Linked DNA regions of Homo sapiens: region 1 is linked to region 2. The links are contacts of gene promoters, found by promoter capture Hi-C in human tissues and cell types (Jung and others, 2019). All regions are on one chromosome and are shown on one strand. The core of a region is centred on a gene start or on the middle of the fragment in contact, and the rest is flanking DNA. Distances in the headings are between cores, read along the strand shown. Region 1 overlaps ABCD4 (ATP binding cassette subfamily D member 4). Region 2 holds the start of VSX2 (visual system homeobox 2).

What was found. The method cuts DNA at HindIII sites, captures the fragments that hold promoters and counts their contacts. A contact is called where the count stands out against the background at its distance.
Region 1: a contact is called between a fragment that was not itself captured here and the fragment with the promoter of VSX2 in region 2, in 2 of the 25 tissues and cell types used here (liver and mesenchymal stem cells).

Annotation. Positions count from the first base shown.
Region 1 is chr14:74,293,158-74,297,153 of GRCh38, forward strand. ABCD4 (ATP binding cassette subfamily D member 4) reads right to left here. Exons shown (of 19, transcript NM_005050.4): 5 at 3,176-3,292; 6 at 2,697-2,822; 7 at 1,991-2,041; 8 at 1-91. Among named protein-coding and RNA genes, the nearest start is that of ABCD4, 7.8 kb to the right of the region's middle. The HindIII fragment of the contact is 3,358 bases long and covers 113-3,470 here.
Region 2 is chr14:74,237,334-74,242,005 of GRCh38, forward strand. VSX2 (visual system homeobox 2) reads left to right here and starts at 2,116. Exons shown (of 5, transcript NM_182894.3): 1 at 2,116-2,598; 2 at 3,849-3,933. The coding sequence starts at 2,229. RefSeq lists an enhancer at 3,467-4,432. The HindIII fragment of the contact is 17,172 bases long and covers 1-4,672 here.

The DNA.
Region 1 (3,996 bases), core at 542-3,041, 56 kb after region 2:
CAGCCAGAGCTCCTTGGACATCAGCTCCCTCTGGGTCTGAAGGAGTCTCTGCAGCCTGCGGTCTGTCCTCATGTGCTCCACATGCCCAGCTCTGACAAGGAAAGGCTGGGATGTCCACAGGGCTGGAGAGGTTCAGCCAGGTTGGGGGGCCGCCTGTCCCATATCACACCCTCCTTTAGAAACCAAGGCCATTCAAATGATCTTGGTCTCAGGATCTGTCTACTGGTAGCGCCCATTCACGGCTTCAGTCATGCCTTAATGGTATTGTCTGTGTGAAGAACATAAACTCTAGAGTTGGGCAGACCTAGTTCAAATCCTGGCTCTGGCCAGTTACTAGCTGCGTGACACAGGCAGGCTACTTAAGCCTCCAAGCCTCAGTTTTTTTAATCTATAAAATGGAGCCAATAATACCTATGTAATAGGTTAGAGTTAGAATTAAAAGTTTCTAAATATAAAGTGCCAAGCACATAAGGAGCCCTCAATAAATAAAAACTATTGTTAAATAAACATACACAGAGCGGTCACTAGGTGTACCAGGCATTGCACTAGTTAGCTAGTGCAATAAAGAAATGAGAAAATTATCTCTGTCTTTGAGGAGCTCTCAGTCCAGAGGGCAGGCAGGCACACTGCATTCTTCACTTGGAATCAGGAGTACTAAGTGTGCCCTCAGGGCCATGGCAGCAGATAGGCTTAGCCATTAAGGGAGTCTGGGAAGGCTCTCCAGAGGAGGTGATCTGGGGTTTCAAGGATGGGAAGAAATTCGCTAGGCAGAAAAGGTGGAGGGAGATTTCAGATTTTGCACAGAGGCCACAGAAGAACTCATCTGAAACTCTACAAACTAACCTGCCTTCCCCAGAGCTTCATGAGCAGAGGCTGCAGAATCCAAAAGCAACTTTTTTCTTTTTTTTTTTTTGAGACGGAGTCTTGCTCTGTCACCCAGGCTGGAGTGCAATGGCAGGATCTTGCCTTACTGCAACCTCTGCCTCCCGGATTCAAGTGATTCTCCTGCCTCAGCCTCCCCAGTAGCTGGGATTACAGGTGCCCGCCACCATGCTCAGCTAATTTTTTGTATTTTTAGTAGAGACAGGGTTTCACCATGTTGGCCATGGCTGGTCTCGAACTCTTGACCTCAGGCAATCCACCCGCCTCGGCCTCCCAAAGTGCTGGGATTACAGGCATGAGCCACCATGCCCGGCCTCCAAAAGCAACTTTTTTACACACCCAGCCCTGCCCACCTCACAACCCCACCCCAGCGCAGATTCCCAGTATTCTTGGTGCCCTCAAGTGGTGGAGGTTGCAAACTGCAGCAGAGACTGAGGAGCAAAGGTCCCAGGGCTATCACATCCACCCCAAGTACAGAGCCAAGGAGTAGCTTCCACTTCTTAAACGCAAACCTCTGCCTGCACTATCAATCCTAACGCTGATTTCAGAGGCCTCACATAAGGCAGAGCACAGGGACCGGTTCTGGCCCTGGAGGGAAGGGATGGGATTTCATGCCGCTGCTGCTGCTCCTGCTGCTGCCGTCAGGAGACCAGACGCTTGGCTCCATTAGACAGCATTGTGGGGAGCAGGTCTCCTGGTTTTCTGAGAAGCTCCCATTCCATCCCACGCTACGGAGACAAAGGATCAGGCTTGAACCTCAGGCACTGGCAAGAAAGCTTCTTAACAGACAGAAGAGCAGAGGCAGACGGATGTCTTACAGTCACCAGCAAGAGGATGAGGCATTCATTCATTTGACAATTTCAGGCCCCACGCTAGGCCACTAAGACTAAAGCTGGCCACAGTAAGGAACCACCAGCTTCAGAAGCAAACCCCTGGACCTAAGGATGAGGCAGGCAAGGGCAGGGGGAGGTAGAGGGAGAGGGTCACAGCCAAGTGTGACAACACTCAGCCCCTGAGCTCGGTGGTGGTGGGAGGGTTGAGGATTCATCTTTCCTTCTCCACTCTCAGCTCTGGCAAGGCAGAAGGGGAACCATCTCTCCAGACTCACCTGTAGAAAGCAGCAGGCTCCGCATTCACCCGAATCTGCATGTGCTTGAACCTGGGCGGACCAAAGGGAAATGTGTGCTGACAACAGGGAGTACTGGCCTCACTCTTGTTGGAGTCCTGGATCACAAAGACCGCCCAAGCGGAGCCCGGCTCTGCCTCAAAACCGTGGCTGCCTCAGTCTGACCCTTTCCTGGACTGTTATGGGGTAGAAAACCCCAGGGCTAGGTGGTGTGGCAGGAGCTCTGCAGAGACAGGGCTGCCCCTCAGCTTTCTGCAGAGAGGACAGGGGTATTCCTGCTCACAGCATCTCCTCCTCCCAGGGCCTGGCCCAAAGGAGGGGGACAAGAAGCACAGGGCAGGCACTGGATCCATTGGCTGCCACACCCAACTGATCCAAGACAGGGCGGTTATGCCAGGGCAGTGAGAAGGCCAAGAGATGACAATGACGATGGTGATGGCCAGGCAGACACGGTTCTCAGACCTTCTCAGGTATGATTTCATTAATCCTCCTAATCCTCTCAGTAGGCAACGGTACCATTTCCACTTTAGAGACAAGAACATTGAAGCTTGGAGAGGTTAAAGACCTCTCCAAGATCACACAGCTAGTAACTGGCACAGCTAGGATTTGAACTTAGGCAGTTTTACTCCAGATCCCCTTCCTTAACTATTATGCCCCAGCCCAGAAACCTCAAGTGAGGGAGACACACCTAAAATCTCCCTCCAGCTTCTCCTGATGCACCAGCTTCATCACAATGGGGCCCATCAAAGTTTTGTTCACCACGGTCCCCAGGATGAAATACCCGAAGATGCTCACAGGCCCGAGCCAGCCTGTGCTGAAATAGAGAGAGAGGGAGAGAAGGGAGAGGGTGTGGGGTGCCACCTATCCCCACATGCCTCAGCCCTGACTCCTGTTCCCTCTCAGGTAGCCCCTGTCCAATCTGAGTGGCCCAATGGGCCCTCTGCTCCTATGTGGGGGCATCTGGTATGAGCTCTCAGAGCCAGGATATCTGTGACACTGCAACACAGGGCCAAAGGAAGGGCAGGGGCCTGAGCACGTGGGATGGGTGAGCACGTGGTAAGGTACGGTGGGAGAGAGGGGAAATAAGCTTCTCTTGGACCTTGACCTGGGAGAGCTGACTGAGGGCCCTCTGGGGAAACACCAGGCTGGGGAGGAGGGAGGCTTCACCTTTGGAAGCACTGGTAAGTGTAGTAGACGAGGGTGAACGGGGAGATGATGAGCTTGCTGGCCATGCTGCTGAGCTGCCGGCAGAATCGCTCCACGTCCTGGCTGATGCGCTGGTCCCTGGAGCCAATGACACAGAGTAGCTGGACCCAGGGAGATGGGCCCAAAGGTAGAGAGAACAAGAAACTTTCACATCACCTCTGCTCTTGACCTTGCCTCACAGTGCTGTGAACACTGACCCTATGGGAAGAGGGAACCAGACAAGGCTGGTTTCCTAGGGGCAACTAAATCCCAGGGCCTTTAAACAGGGTTCTAGAGAGTTGCATCTTACGGTGCCTTAGTTAATCCCCTGAAAAAGTGGGAACTGAAAGGTCCAGTACCCAGGGGCCTGAGCCAGCTCTGAGCAGAGCCAAAGAAAAACTTGAAGGTAGATGAGCTGTTTTGGATGATCAAGAAGACTATCCCCTTTATCTCAATCCTCCCAAATTTCTCTTATATAAGCCCTAGCCTGGCCCCTTTAGTTATCTGGCTGTGAAAGCTCCAGGCTGTGAGGCACACCTGTAGTCCCAGCTACTCAGGGGGCAGAGGCAGGATGGAAGCCATAGCCATCAGAAAGAGGCCTAGAAGTTAGGCAGCAGCAGCAGCCTCCCACGCATCTTTGCACCAAAGCTAAGCTTGAGCTGAGAGGTACCCCAACCAACAAAGTGCTTGCTAGGAAGGTGGTGAGTGAGGGGATGGGTGTGAAGGAGACCCCCTATGTCTCATCTCACCACTAGGGCCATACTGATTCCTATTCCCAATGAGTGACGTGACCTTGGGCAAGT
Region 2 (4,672 bases), core at 866-3,365:
TGGCCGCAGGTGGAAGCTGAGTCCTCCCTTCACCTTCAGCCTCTGGCAAGGGTTTTTCTCAGGGGGCCTGGGGTTGTCCCGGTCTCCAACCTCCTACAGCAGGATGGCGACTATCTCTCTGATATTGGGAACTGGCAGCTTCAGACATGGGGTTTGGTCAAGAGATTTTTCATCCTCATCTGGCAAGAGCCAACTTCATCACTCACACACTTGTTTTCCATCACTCACGTTTGCCCATCAGCTGGCATCTGGCTCATCGTGGATGTCTCATGATAAGTCAGGGACATGACAGATGCCATTAACATAACATCCTCATCCATCCTCCCAGGGTGGGCTGGCATGGAGAGTGGGCTGAGAGAGGGATGGAGTCAAAAGAAAACAGCTTCTGACATCAGACTCATGCGCTGACTCATCTGACCTCTGATGCTTACTAGCTAGGTAACCTCTTAGGCAACATAAGTTTGTGTATCCATTAAATGGGGACAGAAATTCTTTTCTGGCAGGTGAGTCTACTGCTTTGCACAACTCCAGAGGGCACCATTCACATTGTTGTCTACGTGAGTGGTGTTACTTGGGACCCACCTCCATAGAATATAAGGTGAAGAATGCCTTGAGATTGTGTCACCAGAGATGACACCATGTAAGGGGCCTGGGATGATGTAGGCACACAGTAGGCACGGCCTTATTATGGGATACAGAGGCACCACTCTCCCAGATATCTCCTGCACCATGAGATGCCCCTACCTAATTCCAGCTGTTATGTGGACCAAACCAATGGGAGTGGAGACCCTCCTCACAACAGCCCTGCTAGCAAGGTCTAGGTTCCACATCCTGAGGTGCCTCCTCTTACCTCTCAGGCTGGCCCCATGGCAGCCACGAGGGTACCAGACACCTTGGCAATAGGCCAGGTATGGCTAGGGGGTTTCCTTCCATTTGGGGGTTTGCACCTGACTGGCTAAGAAATCCTGGATGGAATCTTCCCAGCCTGGTTTTCCAATCTCTGCTTAAAGCAATGGACCTAGTCCTTATCTCCCCATAGGGTGCCTTCAATTCAAGGAACCTACCATGAACTGACCATATGCTAGGCGCAGTGAAGAAGGGAGCCTCAAGGTCGATAAGATAGTTCCCAGCCCCAAGAAGGTCACAGAAGAGTTAGCTGAGGTGGTGGAGTGCAGGGGAAAGCAGCTTACCTTTTAATTTCCTCTCACCCGCTTCCTCCTTCCTCTCCCTCCACATCAACAATCCCTTCCTCTTCATTCTGTTTGCTCAATGAACTCTGAAGTATAGCAGGGCCCTTGCCTTGTCTGATTTACTGCGGAACCCCTGGCTACCAGGTCGGAGCTAGTAGCTCAATACATATTAGTCGAATGAATTGGGTGGAAGAATCAAGTCCTCCCATGAAAGTTGGGCATGCTTCATGCTTACTCTAGGAAGAGGTTTGGATGTCCATGGTTGTTCTCCAAAAGTAATCATCACTGTTCCTCTTTCCCACCAGGGACCCCTCTTTCTGACCCATTTATCATTCATTCATTGGGCCAATATGTGTTGAGTAGCTCTTCCGAACTAGGCATTATACCTTGTGCTGGGGAAGCAAACTTTCCCTACCCCTACATCACCCTCTGCACACCTTGGCCTGATCTTTTCCCAGCTTACCACCACACACACTGCCCCAGCACTTACCTCTCCCTTGTTCAACCGTTTACACAGAGGTGCCATATTCAGGCCGCCCTGATGCTGCCAACCTGCATAGGAGTTGAGGGAAGGAGGTCTCCCAGTCTCTCACCTCTGCCCTTAGCCCATCCTTCCACCTGACCTCAGGGACCTGTCCCTGCCAGAATCTGCCCAGAGCCCCAAGCCACTCTGCCTCCCGGAACAGCCCTGAACCTGAACCTGGTTGTCTCACTTCGGCCCCTGGGGTCCCTGCCCATGGGCATCCTGCAGAGCCCACCCGGTGCTCCACCCCCAGCACCCTGGCCATTCGACATTGCCTGCGGCGGGAGCTGCCAGCTTTTTGGAATTCCTAATCGCTCCTGGCCCCGGTGATTGGCTGCTCAGCTCTGACCCCACTTGGGCTGCCGCCTGGTTGGATAAAAGGGGAATCTCCTTGGGCTCCAGAGCATTAGACACCGGAGGGGGCACCTGGGACCAACTTCGCGAAGCGGGAAGCCCGGCGGGGGGGTGGGGGGAGCTAAAGACCTGCGGCCTCAGCCCCTCCAAAGAACAGGGAGATGACGGGGAAAGCAGGGGAAGCGCTGAGCAAGCCCAAATCCGAGACAGTGGCCAAGAGTACCTCGGGGGGCGCCCCGGCCAGGTGCACTGGGTTCGGCATCCAGGAGATCCTGGGCTTGAACAAGGAGCCCCCGAGCTCCCACCCGCGGGCAGCGCTCGACGGCCTGGCCCCCGGGCACTTGCTGGCGGCGCGCTCAGTGCTCAGCCCCGCGGGGGTGGGCGGCATGGGGCTTCTGGGGCCCGGGGGGCTCCCTGGCTTCTACACGCAGCCCACCTTCCTGGAAGTGCTGTCCGACCCGCAGAGCGTCCACTTGCAGCCATTGGGCAGAGCATCGGGGCCGCTGGACACCAGCCAGACGGCCAGCTCGGGTAGGTGAGGAGAGGTTGCGCTGCTGCCTGACTGGGGGGCGACAGCCGGGAGCCCCGCGCCGTCGGCTCTCGCTTGCTGGACCAGGCCTCCAGGCGGAAAAGTTCCTGCCAGGCCGGGGGTCGCCGCCTGGGCCTTGGGCCGACGCGCCTGGTGATGGGGCCCGGGAGGATGCTTCGGCGTCCGCAGGGTTTCGGCCCCAAGCGTTTCGGGCGGCCGCGCAGTTCTCCAGTCCCCGCGTCGGGCAGGGCTCGGCCACGGCACTCTGTTGGAGCCCCACTGAAAACTGGGTTTGGGGTGTCGGAGCCCGTGGTGCAGAGTCGCCGGCCGTGTCGGAGGGCCCCAGCACCGCTGCTCCACTGCGGCCCCGGCCTGGTGTAGGATCCGCACTCCTCGAGCCCGATGCTGTTCCGGCTCCGGCCCCATCCCTGGTGTCCAAAGTTGTCTGATTCCCAAATCCCGCGCTGGTCAACTGGGGTTTATTTTTCACCCCCACGAGCTCAGACAACCCGGCCATCGCGGCAGCTAAAGCGGCCGCCATCCTCTCCCACGTAAGCGCCACTATATACTGGAGCCCGGGGACGCGCGGGCTCGGGGACCCTGGGTGACCTCTCCGCCTTCTCCCCGCGCTGCTTTCCGGGAGGTGTGTCGCGGCCCGCTCGAACCTCCGATTCCTGTTTGAGCTTGGCAATTCCCCCGATTTTTCGTTGCGTTTTACTTTGTTTTACGTGGAAAGGCAACGAAAACCAGCGCGTCGCAGGCTCTCGGGCCTCGAGTAGGGACGCATTGTGCCGCCTTGCGAAAAGGACGGTGCTCGGCAGCCCCCAGTCTTCCCGGAGCCCAGCTCCCCACGCCTCCGCTCCGCTCCTCGCTCCTCGAGGCCAACTTTCCGGCCCGGGGCATTGGGGCTGGCCGCGCAGGGCAGGGCGCAGCAGGGTCGCGAGCGCTGCCGGGGATCTCTGCGGCCCCCTAAGGCTGCCTCGCTCTCCGTCGTCCCGGTCCCAAGCGCGCCGGGGCCTTTGCCTCTCTTACAACGAAATCTGTTCAAAACCTCCGGATTCGGGCCCCGGCGCGGGAGAGGTCAGCCTGAGCTCAGGGATGGGACGGCCACCGGGGCGCCCGCAGGCTTCCTGGGGAGACAGAGCAGGTCCCCGCCGCTCGCGGAGGCAGCCCGGGGTGGGGCCCTCGCGGGTTTCGGGCACAGCGGAGCGCGTCCCCCACTCTGCCGCATGTCCCTACGCCCGCTTTTCAGATTCTGAAGATGTTTCCTCCAGCGATCGAAAAATGTCCAAATCTGCTTTAAACCAGACCAAGAAACGGAAGAAGCGGCGACACAGGTGAGGCCCCCGCTTTCTGTTACCTCTCCTGCCCGCGCACCCCGCTGCCGTCCCCCGTTCCGGGATCGGGTCTCTCGGACCCTATTTTCGCCGACAACGGATCTGAGGTCCGAGGCCGTGCCAGGGCGCAGACCACGGGTTGTTTGGCGGAATCTGCCCGGGGGCCTTGGCGTCGGCACCGGTTGAGCAGGATGAGTGGCCGCCGGGAAAGCGGCCCGGTTCGGGCTTTCTCCTCCTTGTTCAGGAGAAAGGAAAGGCTCCAACACAGGCCAAACTGAGCCACAGAGTGGGGGCGGTCCCCAGATCCCCGCACCAGTACATTCTGAGAGCCACACAGACCCGGCGGCGGGCAGATTAGCTCCCACCTCCTGCCAGAGCCGGTTCTTTGCCCTCGGCCTCAACCGCCGCCCCCATTTCTCTCCCGGGGTCCCTGTCCTCTCTGCCAACTCCCTAAGCTTTCTGCTCCCACCGTTCTCCAAAGCTGGAGCGATCTCTGCACTGACAGAGCATTTTCTTTTGGCTTCTGCTCATTCGTGATTCTGACCGAGTCGCTTCCCTTCTGTGAGCCTCAGTTTCCTCGTCTGCAAAATGGAGTGGTAGGCGATGTAGACTGGACGGTCCCACCAGCCGTAGCTGGAGTAGGGTGGACTGCATCGGGGTACAGACTAGAAAGGGTTTTGTTTTGTTTTGTTTTGTTTTGTTTTTGTCTTTAAATGGAAATTACTTGCACAAAGTTAAA